Regions from separate parts of the Homo sapiens genome. Here region 1 is linked to region 2. Evidence: promoter capture Hi-C in human tissues and cell types (Jung and others, 2019). All regions are on one chromosome and are shown on one strand. Each heading gives the region's core, a stretch centred on a gene start or on the middle of the fragment in contact. The rest is flanking DNA. Distances are from core to core; before and after follow the strand shown. Region 1 overlaps SPEN (spen family transcriptional repressor). Region 2 holds the start of FAM131C (family with sequence similarity 131 member C).

Region 1 (3,653 bases), core at 718-3,217, 200 kb after region 2:
TGCAGCTTTTTAATGAGGTAGGTTTATGGAAAATGACTAAAACTTGAGCATTTTAGACAATTCTATGCAGAAAAAAAAGTGGAACAAGATTTTATAATTAGTTTATAGGGTTCAAATGAATTTCATCAATCATTTATCTAGACAGCACACCAAATAAAATCAAAAGAAGTTAAGAGTTTTCATCCATGTCACACGGCTTGAAAGCTGGGCATAGAACGTAACTTTCATGACTTTCTAAACTAGGTGCTTGTTTCATTTTAATATGCAAATCTTCCAGAATGTTTGAATTATATCTAGATAGGCAGAGGGATAAACAAAATGTTTTCATGTATTATTTTGAATAAGAAAATTCAGGAAGCCTAAAAACAGACATTCAACTACATGACCATTTGCTTAAATTAATTTTAAGCAGGCAAAAGAAAAGTAATCTGAGCCTTTTAATCAGGTCAAAGAATTTGACTGTAAATTTTAAATATATACCACCTAAATTGAAAAGCAGGACATGTGGGATTAACAAATTGAATAGCAGCATTTTTTTTAACATATACTAGGTATCAAAGTAAGCATTTTACATTAAGTGTTCATTTTAATTTTCACAATAACTTTATTAAGGTCCTTATTAAAAATGAGAAAGCTTGGCCAGGCGCAGTAGCTCACACTGGTAATCCCAACACTCTGGGAGGCCAAGGCAGGTGAATCACCTGAGGTCAGGAGTTAGAGACCAGCCTGGCCAACACGGTAAAACCCCGTTTCTACTAAAAATACAAAAATTGGCCTGGCATGGTGATGGGTGCCTGTAATCTCAGCTACATGGGAAGCTGAGGCAGAAGACTCACTTGAACCCAGGAGGTGGAGGGTGCTGTGAGCCAAGATCACGCCATTGCACTCCAGCCTAGGTGACAAGAGCGAGACTCCATCTCAAAAAAAAAAAAAAAAAAAAAAAGGGAAAGCTGAGACCTGAAGAACATAAATAACTTATCCTAGATTACTTAAAGGATAATCTATACCACATACCCAGATCTGTGATTTCAAAATCCATATAACTAGGTTTGAAGCTAAGTTTCTTATTAAGATTACCCTCAACTTACTATTTTCGCTTTTCAAATAAAACTTTTTGGCTGGGCACTCTGGCTCATGCCTGTAATCCCAGCAATTTGGGAGGATGAGGTGGGCAAATCACTTGAGGTCAGGAGTTCAAGAACAGCCTGGCCAACATGGCAAAACCTCATCTTTACTAAATACAAAATTAGCCAGGCGTGGTTGCGCACGTTTGTAATCCCAGCTACTTGGGAGGCTGAGGCAGGAGGACTGCTGGAACCCAGAAGGCAGAGGTTGCCGTGAGCCAAGGCTACACCACTGCACTCCAGCCTTGGTGACACAGTGAGACTGTCTTTAAAATATATATATATATTTGTAGAAAGAAATTCTCAACTAGTGAGATCAGTTTACAGAACAGTAAAGTTACAACCTGCATTCAAAGGAAGCTTTTCTACTTGAGTTTATAAATTGGCTACCACCCTGATGTTAAAATTAGCTAAAATTTGTTCATAAGTTGATCTAGTCATTGATAATAAATGTGTCAACAATATTATATTTCACCAATACATATTTAACCAAACAGCTTTTACAAATCTTCAATCAAAATAATAGAAATAAATTGGTATTATACACCTACAAAATTAAAAATGTTAAAGAGATACCATATTTTCAGTGTCACAAGATTTGCCTTGCACAGCTAGAGTCACCACCTCCCTTCCACTTTGATCATTTAATTTTAATACTGTGCATCTGGAGGATGAAACAGAACTTTGCAAATCATCACTTAACTTCGAGTACTTAGAACAGTTAATTCAATGGCCACATGCCAGTTTCTTTACTGATTACATACATATATGATCCAAGATTACTTTAAAAAATAATACTATGCTGAAACCATTCCCACTGATTGTTGAGAATTTGTTTAAAGCTAGCTCATCTGTTATAACAAAAGGCTGTTAACCTACCTGTCACTGCTGGTACTACTGCTGCTGCTGATTGAATCACTACTGGAGGATCTACTTCTAGAGCCGCTGCCGCTAGGGGACCTTGTGGGTCTAGATGCTTGGCTAGCCAGTCTCTGAGGAGACTGATTTCTAGACTGGGATGAATGTGGTGACCGACTCCTGCTGTGCTGGTAATTCCGCTCTGGCCTTCTGCCTCGTACCTCCCGGGTAATATCATCCCTGTAGATATCCCTGTGTACCACACTGGGCAGTGTAAACTGCTCGCGAGCCCTAGGTTCATATCGGGGGTCATGAGCATCAAAGCGATTTGGACTTCGACTCCGAGAAGCGTAATAGAGCCCATGTTGTAAAGTCCGCTCTCGAGGATCTCTATAGTAATCCTGATCGTAATGTCTTGTCCGATCAAATCCTCCCGTCCCCCGTTCATGGTGTCCATAGGCACTATGTTCATAAGCACGCTCCCTGTTATCTGAAGCCCTGCATTTAGGAGGGGGAAAAATATTTAATCAGAAAGGAGCAAGCAAAACTAAAAGCAAGTCATGCAAACATTCACTTCAGCATTGTCTTTGTCTTTGCAACTGGTCATTTTCTAAACAGCATTAACCTACTTAATAAGCAAACGCTAACAAGCTTAACATTTTACTTGACTCCAAAAATTATTTTCACAGCTGAGCAATCATTGTTTTCATTGTATATTGGGCTTTCATGACTAGTGTTCTGCAGCTCACTTGCTTACTTTATTAGAGATTTTCTGACTTGCATACATAAATATACAATCTCCTTTTCATGTTAACGGAACAAGAGACTATTTTAATAATATGAAAGTTTTTACACTTTCATCTGATTAAAGTATATACCAAATTTTATTTACTCACAAATTTCTTTTAGGCCACATTTCCATGCTATGTTTTAACTTAGACATGAAAGCCCTGCTGCAGCGCATGTCTCAACAATAGGAAGGACTTTCAAGAAGTCCAGAAAAAATTTTCTAAGTTTAACTTTTTTTCATTAAGTTTTGACTGCTTGGATAGTTATAAAAAATTACTGGACTACATAAACTAGACTACATAGACTGCACAGCGGTACCCAATTACATTTAATAATAAAAATAGAATCTCAAAAAAAAACCACTTCAAGTATCAAAATATTGGGTTACCACATGCTACTCTATGTGAATTTAAATAAAAATAAAAATTATTTACTCCTGTGCTATCAAATTCCAAATGACTTTAAAAATGCCTATTCCATGATTCAATTTCTTAATGTATAAACTCAATGGTTGTAGGAAATATGTTCTTTTGGCTTTTAGCTATACTCAAATTGCCTGTGATGAAATTAGGTAACATTAGGAACTATAAGATATTCTAAGGTCGCTATTAGCAAAATAGCTTAACTTAAACAATCATTTAGTAGGATGTGAATACCTGTCAACCTAAAAAGTACAAAACACGTTGCATGTACGATTACACACATGCAATTATGTGTTAATATTAAAAACTAGTTATAATCCTATAAAGAAATCGTAAGTTCTCTACTTTTGTAGAGAACTAGAACTCAGCTCCTGAGTTCCTAAAAGACCATTTCACTGGAGTTTCTCTTCAACCCATCTCTGGATCTATCTTCTATCAAAAGGGATTAAGGAATCATGAA
Region 2 (3,459 bases), core at 708-3,207:
CTTACCCAAGGTCGCACAGCTTGTGTGAGCTAAGCCCTCATTCACCCAGGTCTGCTGACACCAGGGCCAGGCACAGAACCGCTCTCCACCCGGACTTTACTGGGCAGAGAGCACCTAGCTTAGAGAAAGAGAAAGAAGTCAGCACCCACTCCCTGGCTCAGCTGCTCTGGCAGTGCGCCCTGGCCCAGATCCTGCCCCTTGAGAGGCCTCCAGCCCTATCCCACGCTGCTGCCTCAAACCTTATTCATTCTTTTTTTTTTTTTTTTTTTTTTTTGAAACAGAGTCTCACTCTGCCGACCAGGCTGGAGTGTAGTGGCACGATTTCGGCTCACTGCAACCTCCACTTTCCCGGGTTCAAGCAATTCTCCTGCCTCAGCCTCCCGAGTAGCTGGGATTACAGGCTTGTGCCACCACACCTAGCTTTTTATTTATTTATTTATTTTGAGATGGAGTTTCTCTCTTGTAGCCCAGGCTGGAGTGCAGTGGCATGGTCTTGGCTCACTGTACCCTGGGTTCAAGCAACTCTCCTGCCTCAGCCTCCTGAGTAGCTGGGATTACAGGCGCCCACCACCACCATGCCTGGCTAATTTTTGTATTTTTAGTAGAGACGGGGTTTCACCATGTTGGCTAGGCTGGTCTCAAACTCCTGACCTCAGGTGATCCGCCCACCTCGGCCTCCCAAAGTGGTGTGATTACAGGCATGAACTACTGTGCCAAGCCCACACCCAGCTAATTTTTTATATTTTTGGTAGAGACGGAGTTTCACCATATTGGCCAGGCTGGTCTCGAACTCCTGACCTCAAGTGATCTGCCTGCCTTGGCCTCCCAAAGTGCTGGGATTACAGGCGTGGGCCACCGCGCCTGGCCCCTCCTTATTCATTCTTCAAAACATTTCTCTGCTGCCACCAGTGAACCTGGCTGCCTCAACTGGAAAACAGACACAAGAGTGCCTGCCCTGCCTGATGCACAGGTGGGCATGAAGGAGAGAGCGAGATGCTATGTGTGAGTGAGGGTCTCAGACACTGACATTGAGTGCTGTGTGCATGGGAAATTTTGCTAAAGGATCTTCACACCTCAGGAGCTGGGATGTGTGTGTGTGTGTGTGTGTGTAAATGCAAGCGTGCTTCAATGTGAGTGTATAACTGTCATTGTGTGGGTGTGAGTGGGTATGTACACATGGGAGACTGTGTATTCATGTGTAGGTATGTGAGTGTGTGTGCGTGTATGTAAATGCAAGTGTGCATATATATGTGTGTGTATGACCATCAGTGTGTGAATGAGGGGTATGTACACATGGGAGAGTGTGTGTGTAGGTACGTGCGAGTAAGTGTGAATGACTACAGAGGCCGTCCAGGGCTGGGGAAAAAAACCTGTGCCTCAGTTTACTCTGCCCTAGACAAGCCCTGAGAGGCAGCCTTGCCCCCCTCTTCAACCATCGCTGGAGACCCTTCATCCCGCCGCCAGGCCACCAGCGCACTATCTACCCGCACTCTCTCTACCCCACCTCTGGGCATATATTATTTTGCATATGTTAATTTCAATAGCTCTGAATGAGGCGCTGACAGTCAAAAGTCGCTGAACTCACAGCTTAGGGCTCTCAGGCAAGGCCTCTAACTTCTGCGAGCCTCACTTTCATCCTCTAAAAATAGGCCCAATGGAACTGTTGTTCTTGCGCGCACCCCTCCTCGCTCCCAAGCCTTCGTGCCCAGTCGTCGTTGGTGTGGTTAAATTCATGTTGTTTACTTTGTGCCCCAAATGCCAGGAGTCTCCCCGCCCCCTCTGTCCCCTTCCCTGACCTTCAGCCCGGGCAACCCCAGGAGGTGGGGGAGCCCCGAAGGGACAGAGATGGCCCTCCCGCGCGCTGCGGCCACAGGTGTGCCCGAGCCTCCCGGCTGCGCTCCCCCGGGCCCCGCCCGCCGCGCCCCGCGGTGTCGCCCTCCCCTGGCAGCGGCGGGCACTGCGCGGGAGGCGGCGGCGCGAGGCGAGCCGGGCGCGGCGGCAGCAGGGACGACCCAGGCTGGAGCTGAGGCCGAGCTGAGGGCGCCCGAGCCCCCCGCCCCGCCCGTCCTCTGGCTCCGCAGCGCTCAGCCCCGGGCCCGCGGAGACATGAACGCCCCGCGGCCCCACGCACCCCGGGCGCAGCGGCCCGGCCCCGCGGCCCCGTGATGGGCTCCTGCGTGTCGCGAGGTGAGGGGGCCCGGCCGGGGGCGGGGGGATCGGGTGCCGGGGACCCGCGCAGTCCCCTCGCCGCTCGGAGACCTGGGGGATGGGGCTGGCGACCCGCCCTTCACGGCCCCGCCGCACCCCTGGGGACGCGGCGTCCTGAGGGGGACAGAGCTAGGGACGGTAGGGGGCGGGGGCAGCGCAGAGAGCGCACGTGCAGAGGTCACCGCATCCCCGCCCCAGTTTGCAGCCCCGCAGGTGACACGAAGCAGGGTCCCGTGCCGTGCCGCGCTCTCATCCCTACAGCCACACACCCCCTGCCGGGTGCCTGGGAACCAGCTCTGGTTCTTCCTGGCTTCCCGGAGGAACTGCGGGCACCGGGAGAACTAGCAGACCCTCCCTTTCCCACCCCTCCCCAAGACACAGGTCTTACCAGCTCACCCCCACAGCCCCTTCCCACGTCTTACCGGGTGCCCCCATCTGCAGAGCCCCTGAACCCTGTTGGCAGGAAAGGGTTAATGGTGGGGCACAGGTTATAAAGAAGGTTCCCCTGCCCCCTAATCCTCCTCCCCACCCCCATCCTTGGACAGGGGACAGAAGGGCCAGAGCACAGCTGATGTTCCCAGTTACCCCTGGGCCTTTCTCTCTGTGTCTGACCTGTCACCCTCCACTCTCCCCCACGTGGTACCCAAGGAGGTGGAGGGGACCTGCCCTTGCCTGGGGGCCCAGGGCAGGCCCCAGCCTCTTCTATCTGTGAGGAGGGGACACACAGTCTTGCACAGAGATTGGGGGATGGGCAGTTTGGTCTTTGGAGCCCCCTACCTCCACCCCCACCCATCACCACCAGCTTTCCAACAGGCTGTTGGGCAACATTTTAGACAAGCGATTGGGCTGAGCCCTTCTCCCACCTTGGTCTGTTCACCCCACAGTGGGATCAGGGGGGTGTGACTGGGAGTGGGGGTGGCTTTGGCCTTGGTTCAGGCTCTGCAGGCTGAGGCCAAACCCACTGACCACCACCACACCCATCACCCCTAGTAGCTTACCCAGAATAGAGGGGACCTTGTCCTGGGGGTATTGAGCAAGGAGCACAATGACCTTCCCCCATCCTCTGGACTCGAAGGGCTTCTGCTCAGGAGTTCCTGTGGGCATTCAGGTAAGTGGCTCAGGATGTCTCTGGGAGGTATCGGGGTGGAATCCCGGCTGGGGAAGGGGAAGGTACAGGGTCAGGCTGTGTGGGGTTCCTTTACTTATCCATGCATTAAGCTGATATTAACATGATAGCTGCCGTGTGCCAGG

Evidence for each region. The method cuts DNA at HindIII sites, captures the fragments that hold promoters and counts their contacts. A contact is called where the count stands out against the background at its distance.
Region 1: a fragment that was not itself captured here is called in contact with the fragment with the promoter of FAM131C in region 2 in 1 of the 25 tissues and cell types used here (aorta).

Annotation. Positions count from the first base shown.
Region 1 is chr1:15,875,029-15,878,681 of GRCh38, reverse strand. SPEN (spen family transcriptional repressor) reads right to left here. Exons shown (of 15, transcript NM_015001.3): 3 at 2,004-2,480. Among named protein-coding and RNA genes, the nearest start is that of SPEN-AS1, 29 kb to the right of the region's middle. The HindIII fragment of the contact is 3,998 bases long and covers 1-3,653 here.
Region 2 is chr1:16,072,149-16,075,607 of GRCh38, reverse strand. It overlaps FAM131C (family with sequence similarity 131 member C), which reads left to right and starts at 1,957. Exons shown (of 7, transcript NM_182623.3): 1 at 1,957-2,187. The coding sequence starts at 2,166. RefSeq lists an enhancer at 1,195-1,694 and a silencer at 1,903-2,062. The HindIII fragment of the contact is 22,024 bases long and covers 1-3,459 here.